2 separate regions of the Homo sapiens genome follow, and region 1 is linked to region 2. The links are contacts of gene promoters, found by promoter capture Hi-C in human tissues and cell types (Jung and others, 2019). All regions are on one chromosome and are shown on one strand. The core of a region is centred on a gene start or on the middle of the fragment in contact, and the rest is flanking DNA. Distances in the headings are between cores, read along the strand shown.

Region 1 (6,041 bases), core at 3,471-5,970, 42 kb before region 2:
CTAAAAATACAAAAAAAATTAGCCGGGCGTGGTGGCGGGCGCCTGTAGTCCCAGCTACTCGGGAGGCTGACGCAGGAGAATGGCGTGAATCCGGAAGGCGGAGCTTGCAGTGAGGCGAGATCGCACCACTGCACTCCAGCCTGGGCAACAGAGCGAGACTCCGTCTCAAAAAAAAAAAAAGAACAAGTTCCCATACCACACTGAATAATAAATTTCAATGCATTTCACTTCTCATTCCTAGGGATTATTGTCTGATAATAAAATTAGAGTAAGTCTGAGGCAGAGAAAAAAACAAACTCAGATCAAAGTAACCAATTCTCCATACATAGCTCTGTTCACTGTATAGTATGTTTCACTTTTATAAGTTGTAGACTTTAGTGGTTATTTTAACACAGTTGCCTGGTTTTTAGAAGCACAGATATTAAGTGCACAGCTATTTCATATATTATTTATATATACATATAAAATATATACAGATATACATACATATACATAGATATTCTCTCAAAGTATTCCTACCAAAACAATCCTCTATGGAAAAAAAATTTTAAATCATATAATATAAAATCAAAACCTATGTTAGGAATTACAAAAGATCAGGTGAATTCGGAATTAAAAAACTACAGGAAGTTGGCTCAATTTCCCCACCACCAAAGTCCAGGATCTTTTGAGAAGAATGAGATGAGTCAGGAAAAAGTACTTCCTTTTTTTAAGATAAGAAGAAAGACTAACAAGATTTTTATGATTTTTTTCCCCTCTGCCATACTAATGAGGAATAATTTTCAAAATAAACCTAAAGCAACTGACCACAAGAGTAAAAAGTGAACAAGAAGGACAGCAATAAAATTATAGCATATCTTAGTATAAAGCTCAACATGAAGCTCTAGAAAACCACACTGCTCTGGATATGTTTTAGTGGTAGGGTCAGAATCTGTTTACATACCTTCTCGGTCAAAAAAGCCTTGGAGAGCCTTTTTGGGATCCTTTATATAAAAGGCCTCCCTTTCCTGCTGAAACTCTAAGACAATAGGGTTCTCTTCAGCATCATCCTCTACTGCATCTTCTCCTACAGGATATGGAAAAGAAAGAAAAGATAATCAGACATGAGAAGAGACTATTTGAATGATACCCACTATTCTCTCAGGCTGCATAAAGATATAGTTTAGGCTGGGCGCAGTGGCTCATGCCTGTAATCCCAGCACTTTGGGAGGCCAAGGCAGGTGGATCACAAGGTCAGGAGTTCAAGACCAGCTTGGCCAACATGGTGAAACCCCATCTCTACTAAAAATACAAAAAAAATTAGCTGGGCACAGTGGCGGGTGTCTGTAATCCCAGCTACTTGGGAGGCTGAGGCAGGAGAATTGCTTGAACCTGGGAGGAAGAAGTTGTAGTGAGCCAAGATCGCGCTACCTGCACTCCAACCCAAGCAACACAGTGAGACCGTCTCCCAAAAAAAAAAAAATATATATATATATATAGTTTATCTGTGATGAAAAATAATAAATACTTGCAGGGACAGGGGGTGGAACAACCACCACAAAACCACTAGTATGAGCATATTCAGGTTTTCTAAATTGTGTGACAAGTCAAAACTTGTTTTCATGGCACCTTAATTTTTTTTTCTCCATCATTATATTTTAAAAGTAAAATTACCTACCACATTGTGGAAAAAAAATTTGAGCTCCTCAGCCTGGCATTCTTGTTCTCTCACACTCATATCTAACTTTCGTTCCCAATATAATTTCCTAATACTTCTTATATCTGCCAAATAGACTGGTCTACTCACAACTTCCTTAAAATCATCAATTCCTACCCTGAATACCAATCCCAATACTCAGCTTCATAAGGCTTTTCCTTTCCTTCAAGTTCCAGCTCAAAATCCTTATGCTCATAAAGCTTCCCTGTGGAGTGCGATCGCTCACGCCTGTAATCTCTACACTTTGGGAGGCCGGGGGGCGGGGTGGGGGGGGGGGGTGGGGGGTGGATCACAAGGTCAGGAGTTCAAGACCAGCCTGGCCAATATGGTGAAACCCCATCTCTACTAAAATAAAAAAAATTAAGTTTCCCAAAGATCTAAGTCAGTGCTGTCCAACAGAAATATAATGACAGCTGTATGCGTCATCTTAAATTTTCTATTAGCCACATTAAAAAATTAAAAGGAAACAGGTAAAATTATTGTCATTTCAACATGTCATCAATATAAAAATATCATGAAAGAGATATTTTACATTCTTTTTTTCAGACTAAGTCTTTGAAATTCAGTGTGTATTTTGCATTTACAGCACACATCAATTGCAACTAGCCACACTGCAAGTGCTCAGTAACCACATGTGGCTAGTGGCTACCATATCAGACAACACAGGTCTAAGTCCCCAGTGACTGTTCTCTCTTCTCCAAACTTTCACTCTAGCATACTTATGGTTTCTAGCTTTTGTTTGGCACTTAGCACAAGTAATTTCATAATTTTTCCTATCTTCCCAACTATATATTAATGCCATCTTCTACCTTTTTATACTCCCATCTCCTGAATATCCATTTTCTAAAATATCTGGTGTTAAAGAAAGTTTATTATTTTGGCTAAGGGACCAGCTTTATCTGATTAGATATTCCACATTTCAGGATATCTTCACAAAGTACAAAAAATTCAAGAGAATATCCTATATTGAATAACATCCCATTTATTTGATTGAATAGAGTTCCATCCCCTCCAATGATAATCACATAGCACAAGGTCAGTACTTAATAAATATAAAATTTTAGAATTGTAAAAATAATAATTTTATGCTTAGGACAAGTTTTGAACAAGAGAGTGCATTAAAAATAAATTTTTAAAAAATCCAAAGTGCCTATAAGTCAATTTCTTTACAACAGTAAAGTCAGTGAATCTCTCTGGGTTTTGGTTACCTCATGTGCAAATTGTGTTTGCCCTATCTATCTCAAGGAGCCATGAAAAGCTGTATGATTTAAAAAAACATTTAAGGGTACCACTTGTAATGAACTTAAAATATTAACCTCCGGCAGCAATTTTAATTTCTTACCCATTCCCCAGGTGCAACCCATCTCATCATCTTGGCTACCAGCATTTATCTTCCTTTCAGAGGTATCCATTTCCTCTTCTTCATCTGAGTCTTCTCCTAGCATCTTCTTCTCCAACAATATTTGCTGCTGCTTGCGCAATTCCTTCAACTGTGTTACTGTTAACTCGGATTCTGCCTCTCGGTCTTCCTCTGGTCCCTGATGAACCAAGGAAAAAAAGGTTATTTATTTATTTAGAGACAGGGTCTTGCTCTGTCGCCTAGGCTGGACTGGAGTGCAGTGGCTGTAATACACCTCACTGCAGCCTTGACCTCCTGGGCTCAGGTGATCCTCCCACCTCAGCCTCCTGAGCAGCTGGGACCATGATGCCTGGCTAATTTTTTTTTTTTTTTTTAAGAGACAGGGTCTTGCCATGTTGCCCAGCCTCCTCTCAAACTCCTGGGCTAAAGCGATCCTCCCGCCTGGGCCTCCCAAAGTGTTGGGATTACAGGCGCGAGCCACCGCGCCTGGCCAAACAAGTTATTTTAGAGTTCGGGATTGTGAACATGACTTTCAGAAATATAGCAATGTGTACAGCCGTCTGAAGATGATAGGCCAGACTTGATTCCTTCACTTTCGTAATCGCTGAGTGGGAGATTCTTCTTCCTCATCCAAAGCTTAAGAAGCACAAGAACGCAGTCCAATGAACCCGAAATTTCAATTCTAGGTTTTTCTACCTACCTGCAGGATAAAGAGCCGGGTGCTGCCTCCAAAGCGAACAACATGCCCAACGTGGACTCGACAGTAGGTGCGAGGTGGGATGCGAGTTTTGTTGAGAAAAGTGCCATGGGTGCTTCCCAGATCGTAGAGGTAGAAGCCCGGCCCGTTGCTGTCGCATTCTCCGTCAGGGCCGGACGCCCTGTGCTGCAGCACTGCGTGGTACCGAGACACCGAAGGGTGCTCCAGGCACACGTCGCAGCCAGACAGCCTCCCGAAAAGGCAGTAACTCGTCCCTTTCAAGCTACGGGTGCCAAGGATAGTGCCGCCCTTCAGGGTCTCTAAGCTGTAGGGGGCTGTGGCAGGGCCACCCCATGGAGGCTCTTGGTAGGGGGGAGCCCGGGCTGGACCGCCAGGGGAAGAAACCGCTGTCGGGGGGCGCGACTGCTCCTCCTGTAGACTCCTAAAATCACCGCAGTCCGGCTGAGGAGGAGGGATGTCGGGCTCCCCAGAATTGGAGTCCTGCAACGCAGTGGGCCCTTCCTTCTGTACCTCCTCAGGGTTTGAAGAACTGCTGGCCGGGGCCTTACTCCGCGCCGCTGGGGACACCGGCAGAGCTGGCTTCTTGAAGTCCCCACTGAGGTCTTGCGACGCCAGGGTCTCTGACTGAGAGAGAATGTCAGCCATCCTCAACCGGTGCAACTTCGAAATCCGCTCCTTCGAAACCCACCCTTCGGTCTTTACGTTCCTGTCCACGTCCCACTCTCCCAAGCTCCCAGTGGCGTCTGTAGGCGGCGATGGTGAAGTTGCTCCTTCACGACCTGGAGCGTTGCGAAGTGGTGCTAACATGAGAAGGTCATAATATGAGAAAAACAAAACGGTTATCGGGATGCTGTGCAGAACGGGGACATATTTAGAGGTTACAACGGGATCGTAATGACTTCCTGTTGCATAGCTTGATTGAGAAGAAGCGCTTCCGGCGGTCTTAGATCACTAATCAACAAACCAGCTTTCGGGGTCTGACGCGATCCTTGCCTCAGGCCTCTCGAGGTCCAGACAGCCGCCCAGCCCGCTCTGCGACGCAGCAGTGAATAGTGTGGTACCTCCTTGTCTCGGTTCAGGTCCAGACCTCCCCGTCTTCCGGCTGCCCTGAACGTCAGGCGACCTCAGGACCCTGTGATTGGCGCCTGCGCCGGCGGACCGTGACCGAGGAAACCCCTGGAGGGACTTGGGCATTCCTTGGGCTCCGTGCCTGTTCTTCGTGCTCCTTTCGGTAAAGTAAGGGAAGAGGGCGACTTTTTTGTTATTTCGTTCATTCATTTATTTTTTTTCTGAAATTATTAAGGCAGAATAGTTAAGTGGTTAAGAGAGCAGACTCTGGAGACTGTCGATTTTTGACCTCGCCATTTGTGACATTGGGCAAGACACTAGGCCTCAGCCCTCACTCTGAAAAATGGGGATAAGATTATTAGCCTCATAGGGTTGTTGGAAGAATTGAATCAAACAATAAAGGCCAGCCAGACCGGTGGCTCATGCCTGTAATCCCAACATTTTGGGAGGCTGAGGCGGGAGGATTGCTTGAGCCCAGGAGTTCCAGAGGAGGCTGGGCAACATGGCGAGACCCTGTCTCGCCAAAAAAAAAAAAAAAAAAGAAAAAATCCAGGTTTGATGGTGCGCGCCTGTAGTCCCAGCTACTCCAGAGGCTGAGGTGGGAGGATTGCTTGGTCCCAGGAGGTTGAGGCTGCAGTGAACCATGACTGCACCACTGCACTCCAGCCTGGGCTACAGAGTGAAACCCTGTCTCAAAAAAGAAACAAACAAAAAAGGTGAAGTCTGGCATATAGTAAACATTCAACAAATGCCAGATATTTCTGTGTGCCTGGCCCTGTAACAAGACCACAGCCATAAGAAATAGACGGGCAGAAAAAATCTATTGCGATAAGTACTAATTAAAATCCAAGGATAACTGCTGTGACATAGACTTGCAAAGCACTGTGAGAATAGAGAAAGGGAGATGCACTGGTGAAGTGACGGACGGTGGGGACTTATGCTGTACTTAAAAATGAATATGAGTCTGCCAGGGATGTGCAAGGTTGGCAGAGCATTTCTGGCAGAGTTCACAGCTGAAAGTGTCAATTGTGGAAATGTACAGCATTCTCAAGAAACTGAGTAGTATAATGTTGTTAGAACAAAGGTAGTCATTTCACCCAGGAAGCTCCTCCTTTGTGCTTCCAGTACCCCAGGTCCATATACCTCTAGAACAGTACTTACCATGTTTCATATTGAAATATTCTGCTTCTGTTTCTCTT
Region 2 (5,852 bases), core at 2,830-5,329:
CCAGGTAATGGATATGGTATACTGCTTGTGGCTGTCCCTTCCAGAGTGAGGGCTTGAAGACATTAAAAGTTGAATGATAACTGATTTCATACCTTGAAATCCATACCTCTAAGTAAGCAGCAAGTTGGCCAACTAAGATTTCAATCTGCATTTTGTCTGCTTTGCTATTTAGAAAATTACACAGGGTTATGTTACAGAAAGTGAGTTTAGATGGAAAAGACCTCTGAGGTGAAATTTAAGACCTATGATTGCTAAAATGAAGCCTACAATGCAAAAACTGGGGAAGAAACTATTCTAGGCAGAGGCAACAGTGAATGCAAATGCCTTAAGATGGCAATAAGCTTGGTAGGTTCAAGGAACAGAAAGGTGTGTATGTAAAGTATAGTTGAGGAATGGTCACAGAACATGAGTGGAGGAAAGGAAGATGAGGCTATTAAGGCTAGCAGGAGTTTAGGCACCGAGGGCCTTTAGCAGGTGAATGAGGTCTGATTTACCTAATTTTAAAAACTACAACTGTTATGTGGAGTGTATCCAAGCCAGAAAAAAGTGGAAGGAAACCAATTACGAAGATACTGTAGTCTAGGCAAGAGGTAATGATGGCTTAGATTGGAATGGCAGAAGTAGAGTGAACAGATTCAAAATGTAGTTGGTGGTAGGCAGGACTTGCTAATGGATTTGCTATAAGAAGAGAGAGATGAAGCAAGAGTAAATTTCTAAAATGTTCTCTTTTAAGGAGATGTGCAGAATATTCTTTGTATTTTTTTAGACGGTCTCACTGTGTCACGCAGGCTGGAGTGCAGTAGTGTGATCACAGCTCATAGCAGCATCTTGACCTCCTGGACCCAAGAAGTCCTCCCATCTCGGCCTCCCAACTAGCTGGGACTATAGGTGCACACCACAATGCCCAGCTAATTTTTTTAATTTTTTTGTAGAGATGAGATTTCATCACATTGCCCAGGTTGGTCTAGAACTCCTGAGCTCAAGCGATCCTCCAGCCTCAGCCTCCCAAAACGTTAGGATTACAGGTGTGAGCCACTGTGCCTGGCCCCAGACATTGAGACATATTCATGATGATACGAGAAACCCTACTCAATTTTATAGCTTGTATAGTATTCTACTGTATGACTATATCACAATTTATCCATTCTGATAATGGATAATTATTGTGTATTAGAGTAGGCTAACAAAGAGACCCAAGAATGTATAATGTCTCAAATAACAGACATTTATTTCTTGCTCACTTAATAGTCTCAGATACATGTTCCTGGTTGGCAAGTGGCTCTCCTTCAACAGGTGATTCAGGGGGTCAAGATATCTTCCATTTTGTGTTCTTCCATCTCCTAGGGCCCCATCATCATCTGCATTTAGCCAGAAGAAGGGTAAAGAAAGCTTGGAGGTACACCCACTCAAAAGTTCTAACCTGCAAGTGGCATTCATCACTCCACTCACATTCCATGGGAGAGGAGTTAGCTGGCTTCTCCTTCACTAGAGAGAGTGGAGGGAAGGGGGATAACTAGGAAATATACAGTCTAGCCATTTGTTCTATAATCCCATAATTTGCAAAGGTGAAAGTAGATCTCTGATACTTGTTTTCAGTATTTCTCTACTGTAAACTGTACTGCAATAATCATTCTTTTTTGTGTCTCTTGGTACGCCTAGACAAAAGGAGTTACTCTGTGTATACCCAGGAGAGAAACTGCTAAGTCTTCGGGTACATATCTTCAACTCTGCTAGATACTGCCAAATCACTTTTGAAGTGATTGTACCAATTTGCATTCCAAACCATGTATGAAAGTTCATAATACTGTCAAACTTAGTTTGTTAGTCTAATGAATTTTTTTTAAAAAAACTTTAAAACTCAATACTGTGATTAGAATAGTCTATACTGAGTCCTGCTGATCCCTGGTCTTGGTCAGGAAAAACGAAAGGAATGCCTGCAAGAGGTCCCTGGATGAAACTGGGCAAGTTTCCTATACTAATTCACTTTAATCTCAAACTACTCATTTTAACCAGCATAATTCATGAACCAAAGAATTACTGAGACAACTGCATGTGGAATTTATTTCAAACTCACCCCCATCTCTAGCCATCTTCTTACCCCCATACAGTGTCAAGGAGTCATGCAGCAGGTCGGCGTCAAAGAACACTGGAAACATCTTTCTGAGAGTCATTTATTTCTTTTGTCATTGCCAAACATTCCCCAGGTCTTACTCACCAGAAATTAACATAGCTTCTTCATTTCTCCTCCCTGACAACCCTCATCTACTGAAAGGGCTTTAAGGGCACACTGCCAATGAAAATGCAGAGTGCATATACCATGTCCTTAACTTGTTTCAAAACTACCTATTCTGGCAGTATCCAATTCAGGTTTCAGTGCTCCCTTGTTTGAAAGTGGTCTTCACAAAAGCCCACATTTTAAAGCTATTTGGAGGAGCACAAAGAGTTAAAGTGGTAATAGCCTTTCAGAATTTGAAAAGGTAGTACTTGTCTATATCAGGTTCATTTTTTATGTGGCATATGCCACAAAATAGGCAAGAATATATAAGACCAATATTTACGCAAAATGGGGAAGAGAATCCAGAAACACGACAACAAAGCTGCTCTAACCAATGTTCCAGAGAAAGCCACCCTCAAAGAGAAATAACCCATTAAACATTACCAGATAGGCATGAGGTACAGAAAAAGAATTTTTCTTTCCAGCTCCAGATAAATATCTACATCTGGTGTCAAAGTCTCAGGATATAAAGAGGAGAGAACTCCATATATAAAAGAGGATAGGACAATATTCTCAGAAAATTCAAAAAGACAGAGGTTGGCTAAGGGGATGGGTGGAAACAGTGGGGCGTAGACTAACAAGTAAGGTAAAGTCCAGGGAGAAGGAATGCGCACCTTGGTTTTCCCTTAGTGGCACTACCAGGAGCACTAGGAGACTGTCAAAACATCAGGGGCAATGTGATATTTCTCAATTCTTAAAACCAAAGAAGCAAAAATAAGCTTCAGAGGGCAAGTGATCATAGCTATGGATGAGGCCTCGGGCTCCAGGAAAGTTGGGGCAGTATTTATTGCTGCTTCTACTTTCTCTTTCCTGTCATTTTAATGTTTGGGTCACTTTACTCCTAAGGTTGCTTTTCATGTCTGTGGGTCTAGTCACTGCTACTTGGTACAAAGCATTTCCCAGTATAAACAGCATAGGGTAGTTCTAGAGTTTTCATCCTAAATCCGTTTTCTTACTTTCAATCTTAAAACCATATTGAGAGGACAAACAGCCTCCATAAAGTTTTTTTCCCAAGGAGACAGAGTAATCTTATTATGTGAATGACAACAGTTCTAACTTCTAGACTTGTTATATCACAAATACAAAATGACAAATCAGTTATGGTTTTAAAAAATTAGTTTGGAATGGTTTCACAAGCTAGATGATGGAGCAGCTACTAAATCAATGGAGCTTCCAAGAACATTCTATACCCCAGGAAGGAAAGGACAACCAAAGAGGTTTCTTAGTTTTGTACAGGGCAAGAGGAGCCTATAGTTGGCCTTGAGAGGGAGCTCTTTGGGCAAGATAAAAAAACAAGAGGACTTGACGAGGAATAGCAGGAAAACCTACTAAAAGGGGAGGGGGGAATCAAAATGTAAGAAGGGAAGACAGTGAAATTTACACAGGAGGAAGGAGCTGAGAAAGTCACAGCCTTACACAAACAGCTGAAAGAATCTTCACTCAGTCCTCCCAGCACAGGTCCCCGTGACAACAGCATCACATCTGCTTTCCTAGGAGCACTTTTACACTGACTGCCTATTTCCTTCCTCGTTTATGATTAGTCTTTGGGGGCTTTACTTTCTGGAACTGTGCTGGCACTGGCTCCTGCTCTGGTTCCTTACAGGAGGCTGACACTACCAGTTCCTCATTATTCCTCCTCTGATCCTTCCCTACTCTAAGACTCAGCTCTGTCTCGGGAAGCTCAATGCCAGGCTGCTGCCGCCTTCTTAGAGACCTTCTGCTCCTGTGCTGCTGCCTCCGCTTTTCTTCTTCTTGCTGCCGCTGCTTTATCTTCATCAGCTTTTCAAAGCTTTTGGTTGTTGTTGGGTTTACAACGAACCAGTCCTAGAGAGGCAAAATAGAAATGTCATCCAGTCGAAAATATAGTGAAGAACATAAAGAAAGGTGGAGGAAGAATGGAAAAAAGGCATGATTAGGGCAGAACACAGTAAGAAGGAAACAGATATGGAACCATACCTCAGGATTCTATATTTTAAGATGGAGAAATCCAACACAGAGCAGCTATTACAAGCACATATTTTGTAAGGCGTAATTCTAGGGACTTTAATAAATGATCTACAAAGTCTGTTTACTTAGCATCATCCCACTCTTATATCTCCTGAGTATAAATCTCATCATGAGATGTAACACACTGAGCCATAGGAGATTTTTATTCCATGACGGCATCGTAACTAAGAGCATAAATTTTGCAGCCAGACCCCCTGGGTGCAAATCCCAGCTCTGTTTCTAGATACGTGACCATGGGCGAATTACTTAACATTTTCGAGGCTCACTTTAAAAAATTAAGGGGTAGGGGACATGAAATCCAATTATGAAGTATTTTTGCCAAAAAAGAAAGAACTTCAATCTTATCAAGTGATCTGTTCAATCTTCTAAATCTACCAATTCATAGGAAAAGCCAGAATAGGGAGTTGAGCCCAATCTCTCTGCCCCACTGCAAGACTCCACTGCAGTGGTCCCTGTACCTCAAAAACAAACAACAACAACAAAAAGCAAAAAAGGAAATGGCCAGAATACAGGAATACTATCATAGGGTGCAATCAGCAAAATTCCAGAATGTGGGTACATGTATGTGACAAGTGATCCGGTTTCTTCAATAAATGGCAAATTTGTAAAAAAGAAGAGGAAGCTTTTAGTCTTGCACCATGCAATGAGATAGCCACTAGCCACATATGGTAAGTGATGTGTTTAAATGTGAGTAGAACAAATTAAGATATGCTTTCATGTAAAATATACAACAAATCTCAAAGACTTGTTATGAAAAAAATGTAAAATATCTCAATAATTTATTGATTTAATGTTAAAAATAATTTTAGATATATTGGGCTTAATAATTATTAACATTAATTTCATCTTTTAAAATACTTTTTTAATGTGGCTACTAGAAAATTTTAAATTATATACATGGCTCACAGTACTTTTTTTGGATAGTGCTGCTCTAGATTAAAACAAACAAATGCAATATTTAGACCTTGTTTTAGATCCTAATTTGAAAAATCAACTCTGAAAAAACATTATAAGATAATCAGGGAAATTTAAATAATAACTAGACATATGATAATATTAAAATTCTTAACTTTTTTAGGTATAATGATGTTTGTGGTCATATGTTTTCAAAAGTCCTTATCTCTTACAGATATATATTGAAAGAAGCACTTACAGCTGAAATTTTATGTGGAATTTGCTTTAAAGTAAGCCTTTAAGGGAGGAGAAAAGTGAGGTTATAAATGACACAAGATTGGCCATACACTGATGATTGCTGAGGATGGCTGACAGCATACTGGGTTCATTATGCTATTTTCTCTACTTTCATGTGTTTGAAATTTTCTGTTAAAAAAAAAAAAGTAGTGTAAGAAAATGTGATGGAGGGAGGAAGAAACAGGGTAAAGATGTTTTACCACCCACAAAATTCATAGAGGCATAAATCAATAAACAAATGCCTGGGAGCATGCCCCAAACCAAGTGAAATTTGTTGGTTCCAATTCTTTTGATTTTAACTTTTTAGGAAGAAAATAGACAAACCATTTAACTATATAAAGGCCAGATTTTGTCAGGAGATAATTACCTTTTTTTTTTA

What was found. Contacts are between HindIII fragments. The study calls those that stand out against the background at their distance.
Region 1: the fragment with the promoter of SUPT7L here is called in contact with a fragment that was not itself captured in region 2 in 2 of the 25 tissues and cell types used here (hippocampus and spleen).

Annotation. Positions count from the first base shown.
Region 1 is chr2:27,662,293-27,668,333 of GRCh38, reverse strand. SUPT7L (SPT7 like, STAGA complex subunit gamma) reads left to right here and starts at 4,720. Exons shown (of 6, transcript NM_014860.3): 1 at 4,720-5,005. It overlaps SLC4A1AP (solute carrier family 4 member 1 adaptor protein), which reads right to left and starts at 4,445. Exons shown (of 14, transcript NM_018158.3): 1 at 3,757-4,445; 2 at 3,039-3,234; 3 at 944-1,066. The coding sequence starts at 4,419. The HindIII fragment of the contact is 8,665 bases long and covers 2,795-6,041 here.
Region 2 is chr2:27,619,400-27,625,251 of GRCh38, reverse strand. It overlaps ZNF512 (zinc finger protein 512), which reads right to left. Exons shown (of 14, transcript NM_032434.4): 14 at 2,035-4,099. The coding sequence ends at 3,791. Among named protein-coding and RNA genes, the nearest start is that of CCDC121, 6.7 kb to the left of the region's middle. The HindIII fragment of the contact is 6,428 bases long and covers 866-5,852 here.